Regions from separate parts of the Homo sapiens genome. Here region 2 is linked to region 1. The links are contacts of gene promoters, found by promoter capture Hi-C in human tissues and cell types (Jung and others, 2019). All regions are on one chromosome and are shown on one strand. The core of a region is centred on a gene start or on the middle of the fragment in contact, and the rest is flanking DNA. Distances in the headings are between cores, read along the strand shown. Region 1 holds the start of OCSTAMP (osteoclast stimulatory transmembrane protein). Region 2 overlaps SLC13A3 (solute carrier family 13 member 3).

What was found. Contacts are between HindIII fragments. The study calls those that stand out against the background at their distance.
Region 2: a fragment that was not itself captured here is called in contact with the fragment with the promoter of OCSTAMP in region 1 in 2 of the 25 tissues and cell types used here (aorta and spleen).

Annotation. Positions count from the first base shown.
Region 1 is chr20:46,549,372-46,551,975 of GRCh38, forward strand. It overlaps OCSTAMP (osteoclast stimulatory transmembrane protein), which reads right to left and starts at 1,283. Exons shown (of 3, transcript NM_080721.3): 1 at 1,146-1,283. The coding sequence starts at 1,189. The HindIII fragment of the contact is 9,290 bases long and covers 1-2,604 here.
Region 2 is chr20:46,622,517-46,625,120 of GRCh38, forward strand. All of the region lies in intron 1 of SLC13A3 (solute carrier family 13 member 3), which reads right to left. Among named protein-coding and RNA genes, the nearest start is that of SLC13A3, 28 kb to the right of the region's middle. RefSeq lists an enhancer at 1-173. The HindIII fragment of the contact is 3,883 bases long and covers 1-2,604 here.

The DNA of each region.
Region 1 (2,604 bases), core at 33-2,532:
AAAGATGAATTAAGTCCTGGTCCCACTAAAGGAGTTCACAGTCTAATTGAGGAGACTTAAATAGACCATTAGAGTTTAAGTTCATTAACAAAGAATTCTGAGCATAGTATGCCTGGGCCTGGACTGGGGTGGGATAGATGGAGAGTGACCCAGTTTTACCTGGGAGTCAGGAAGGCTCCCTGGAAGAGGTGACATTCCAGCTGGGGGTGGAAGGACAAGTGTCAGTTTGTGGGTGAAGAAGGGAGTTGGACATCCCTGACAGAAGGAACAGCGTGTGCAAAGGTCCTGTGCTCTGACCATCGGGAAATAGGGAGTTGGGAGAACCAGAACAGTGGGAAGCTGAGATGCAGTGAGGCCTGTGGGGCTGGAGTGAAGGTCACAACCTTGAAGCCCTAAAGGCTGAATCATATGCAAATGTGCCTTATTGTGGCCCACTCTGTGTGTGTGTGTGTGTGTGTAAGCTGCCCCCATTTGGAAATAAGGAAGTTTCACATTAAAATCTGGGTTTCCAGCTTTTCTTGAGAGATAAGAAGATCTGGGTTAGAGCTCCCACCTTTGCAACAGGTAGCTGGAGCTGAGTATCCACTACCCACCTTTGACAGGGGAGCAGCCCTGCAGACTGCATCCTGCTGATCAATGAACGGGTCCGTCTGCACACCCAGGTGGCCTTCCACAGGTGCAACCCCTTCCCAGCTCCCGAAGGCATTTGAATTTGGGACTAAACACCCCCTTCTACTATATAATTAATATTTGGAACACAGTAGCTTTTGGAATAATAGCTAATAATAAAAACAATTTTAAGGATTGAAAGCCAGTCCTAAGTCATATTGGATGACAATTCCTGCACGGGGTATTGAAAATGGCAAGGAAACTAGCTGCTGTTTAGTGAGTGCTTCCTCTGAGCCAAGCAGGTGCCAAGTACTAAGCATGTGTTTTCTCATTCAATTCTGGCAACAGTCTTGTAGATGTCATTATTACTTCCATTTCACAGATGGGGAACTGAGGCTCACAGAGAACTGAGGATTTGCCTAAGGTCACATAGCCAAGGAATGGCAGAGCTGAAGATTTGGGTTCATATCCATCACCCCCAATGGCTGACTGTTTTCTCACCTGTAGCCCTCAGTGTCCAAAGTCCCCAGACCTACCCGGTCTTGACAAGTTGCTCAGCTGCTCCTGGGTGGCCTGGCATGCTGTCCAAATGGCAGTGGTTTCAGGCGGGCGGTCGCTGGCAGCTGTGGCAGGTGGAGAGGAAGTGGGGGAATCGCTGGGACTTGGGAATCCCTGCCACTTCTGCTTTTCCACTCTTTAATGAAGCTCTCCTGGCTGCCTTGTCCCGCCCTTTTCGGGGCCCACCTCCCAGAGGGTTGGGCAAGCTGCCTCATCCTCTGCCCACAAGCAAGAGCGGGTGGAAGGTGTGGGAAGAGGAAAAGACAGCCTTTTCCAAGCGATGTCTCTAATCTTGGTAGCAGGAAGGTAGAATTAGCCCCATTTTACAGAGAAGGAAACTGAGGCACAGAGAAACCATACAGCTTCCCTTTCCCTCCCACTCCATAGTTGTGTGCCCCAAGGGGAGCCTGATCCCTGCTCTTGGGACTCACAGGTGATAATCAGACCCCTGCCAAGTACTGGGAGCAGTGGCTCTGGTCTCCTTCCCCAGCCCCCTTCCTGTCTTTAGCCTGACTTGTACCTCGCTTCAAATCTCAGCTCTGTCCCTCCCTAGCTATGAGACCTTGGGCAGGTGACCTCATATCTCTCTGCTGGTTTTCTCCCCTTAAAAAAAGTTTAATGAGGCTGGGCACAGTGGCTCACATCTGTAATCCCAGCACTCTGGGAGGCTGAGGGGGGTGGATCACCTGAGGTCAGGAGTTTGAGATCAGCCTGACCAACATGGTGAAACCCTGTCTCTACTAAAAATACAAAAATTATCTGGTTTGTGGTGGTGCATACCTGTAGTTCCAGATACTCGGGAGGCTGAGGCAGGAGAATCACTTGAACCTAGGAGACAAGGTTGCAGTGAGCTGAGATCACGTCACTGCACTCCAGCCTGGGCACAGAGCGAGACTCCGTCTCAAAAAAAAATAGTTAATGAAAATAACAGTTAACATTTATTGAGCACTTACTATGTATCAGGCATTCTTCTAAACAATTTCTCTTCAAATTCACTGAACACTTACTTTGAACATCCCTTTATGGTAAAGATGTTATTTTCATTCTTCAGCTCAGAAAACTGAGACTCAGAGAGCTACGTCGCCAACCACGCCACTCAGCTATTAATGGTACTGCCGTGATTTCTAACCAGCGGGCTGGCTTCAGGGTATACCAGTTAGCCACTGGGCTCTGCTGCTGTGGAGGGGATAATTCACAGACCTCGTGATTACTTCATAGTACAGCTGGTACTGCAAATAGTAGGTACTCAATAATGTAAATTCCCCACGCACACCCTCTGCAGTTAGTGCCCTGCAGGTCTGCTTTCAGGCTGTCCTGAAAGCCAGTTCCTACCTGGAATGCAGACACCTCTCCAGCATCTCTGTACCCCATCACTCCCAGCAGGCCTCCCCTGAGCCCCCCAGGCTCCCCCTCTGTGGGATGGACCAGTAGGGGCAC
Region 2 (2,604 bases), core at 1-2,500, 73 kb after region 1:
ATTTGCCTATTGTACTTTAAAATATGAGGGCAGATTTCTGGAGCAGTAGGGGATTCTTGCAAATTTGCTCCTCTAACTCAACAGGAATTGGTGTGTGGTGTGTGCGTGTGTGTGTGTGTGTGTGTGTGTGTGTGTGTGTGTGTGTGTGTGTGTCTGATACTCATGAATAGCAACAAAGTTACAAATTTAAGAAGGCAATATAGCTTCCCTGCTAGGGACACTCTAAGGTCAGAACTTAATAGATGACAAGAATTTTAAAAAGACATGACTCAGATCTTACAATATCAAAGGGATACAAAGGGATAGTTTGAACAACTTTTTACCAATAACTTTGATGATTTCAAGTAACCAGAGGAACTTCCTGATAAAAACATACCTTTCTCAACTATCAGAAAAAGAAATTAAAAAGTTGAATATTTCAGTGTCTATTGAAGAAACTGAATCAATCATTAAAAACCTCCCCACGAAAAAGCTCCAAGCCCTTCTGGCTTCAATGGTAATTCTACCAAACATTGAAGGAATAAATAATACCATCTTGCACAAACTCTTTCAGAGAGCAGAGAAAAAGGGAACACTTCCCAATTCATTTTATGAGGACAGGATAACCCTGTTACCTGGGTGATCCTGACAAGGGCATTAAAAGAAAAGAAAATGGAATACAATGGTTGAGAACAGTGACATGCAGTCACCTGGAAAATTTCAATTCTCAGGAGCTCTGGTGAGAGTTTCCTTTTCTATGCAGCTTCACATCTCTATGCAGAAGAATAACTACAGTATAATGACAATCACAATCACCAACATTTTTTGAGTATTCTCTAAGTTTCAGGCGTCTTCTATGTATTAACTCATGTAATGCCCCTAACAATCTTTTCTTTTCCTTTCCTCTCTATCTTTTTTTGAACCAAGGTCTAACTATGTTGCCCAGGCTGGTCTTGAATTCCTGGGCTCAAGTGAACCTCCCATCTCAGCCTCCCAAGTAGCTGGGATGACAGGCATACACTGACACACCTGGATTCAGGAAGGTACTATTACTTTCCCCCTCTGTTTTGGGGGAAATTATAAAAAGATGTCTATTTAGGTCATGCATACAATGCTGTGTCCCAGGTAATTCAGTCCCAGGGTAGTGTTGCAGCTTACAAACTGTGTAGTCTAAACAGGAATTCTAATTTTTAAACTCTTCTCTTTTAAACATTTAAGGGACTCAAAGTATAACGATCGCTAGCAATTAATTAGCAAGCAATTAATTTCCAAGTAATTGCATTTGTGAACTCATTTTATTTTCAAAACAATCCTTTGAGGCAGATATTATTAGCTCTATTTTACTGATGGGACATGGAGGCAAACAGGAAAAGTCAAGTAACTTGCCCATAGCTGCTGAGGCAGTCAGGATTTGAACCCAGGTGGTCTGACCAGAGTTTTCTCTTTATCACTATGTATTTCTGCACAATCCGTGGGTGTTCTTGTCAAATGCCTACATCCTCTCTATTCTCTAGCATGCCTGAAAATCTCTCTCGTTCCTAGGCCAAGAGAACCTCTCTCAAGCTTCCTGGCTCCTTGCCATCTCTGCCCCTCCATGACTCCCCATCTCTGCCTCACTGTCTCCCACAAGGCATGCTAATAATAACCATCCTGTTCCTTGCCAATTCCTCATTCACAGGAACCCCATCCTTCTAGTTCTGGCTCCTTTCTCCAGAAAATAACCTATCTGGAGGCTCTAGTTCTTCCTCTCTTCATGCAATAGCAACAACAATCACTATCACCATAATAATACTAATAACAGTCAATACCTATTGAGAATTTGCTATGTGGCAGACACTGCCCAAACAACTGTACCTGTGTATTATCTCAGTTTAATTGTGATTGTCACAACAGCCCTATGCAGGAGGTTCCATGATTATCTCCATTTAGCAGATAATGCAACTGAAGCACAGAGTGAATAAGTAGCCTGACCAGGGTCACAGAGATGAAAGTAGTGGACAGCCTGCTGGGTAGACACAAGGCAAGCTGCTCATAGCATTATGCTATTACACAAGGGGGAGATGGAGAGAGCTAGACAAGCTATTCCCAAATATCCAATCAGTATTAGGATGGATAGCAGCAAAATTGTTTAGCATAAGTATATCCCATGCACTATTTGGGATATACTTATAGTTTAAAAATGACTCCTTGTTCATCTGAAATTCAAAGTGAACTTAGCACCCTGTGTTTTATCCCTCAACCCTAGCTGGACCAACATTCCAAAGATGTGAGGAGGGAAAGCCCAAGTATTTCTAAAGACCAGATGTGGTTCTGAAGTGAGAATTTCAGCCCAGGTCCTCTTTAAAATCCTGCCTAAGAGGTCTGCTTCTAAGTGATATAGGACCCCTAAGGGAGTTCCCATATATAGGAAACCAGGAACTAGAGGGGGAGCAGCCAGGGGAAAAAAAACCCAAGGGAAGGGCTGTGAAGTGTTCTGAGAAGGGGGAGATCCTCTAGTCTCCCGACTCTGTAATGCTCACAAGAGAAGGGTCTGCTGTAAAGGGAAGCTGAGGGGCAGGAGTCATGCACCTGCTAGGCTCCTTGTCTTTTCCTGCCCCCTGGCTTCTTTCACTGTGGCTGTCACAA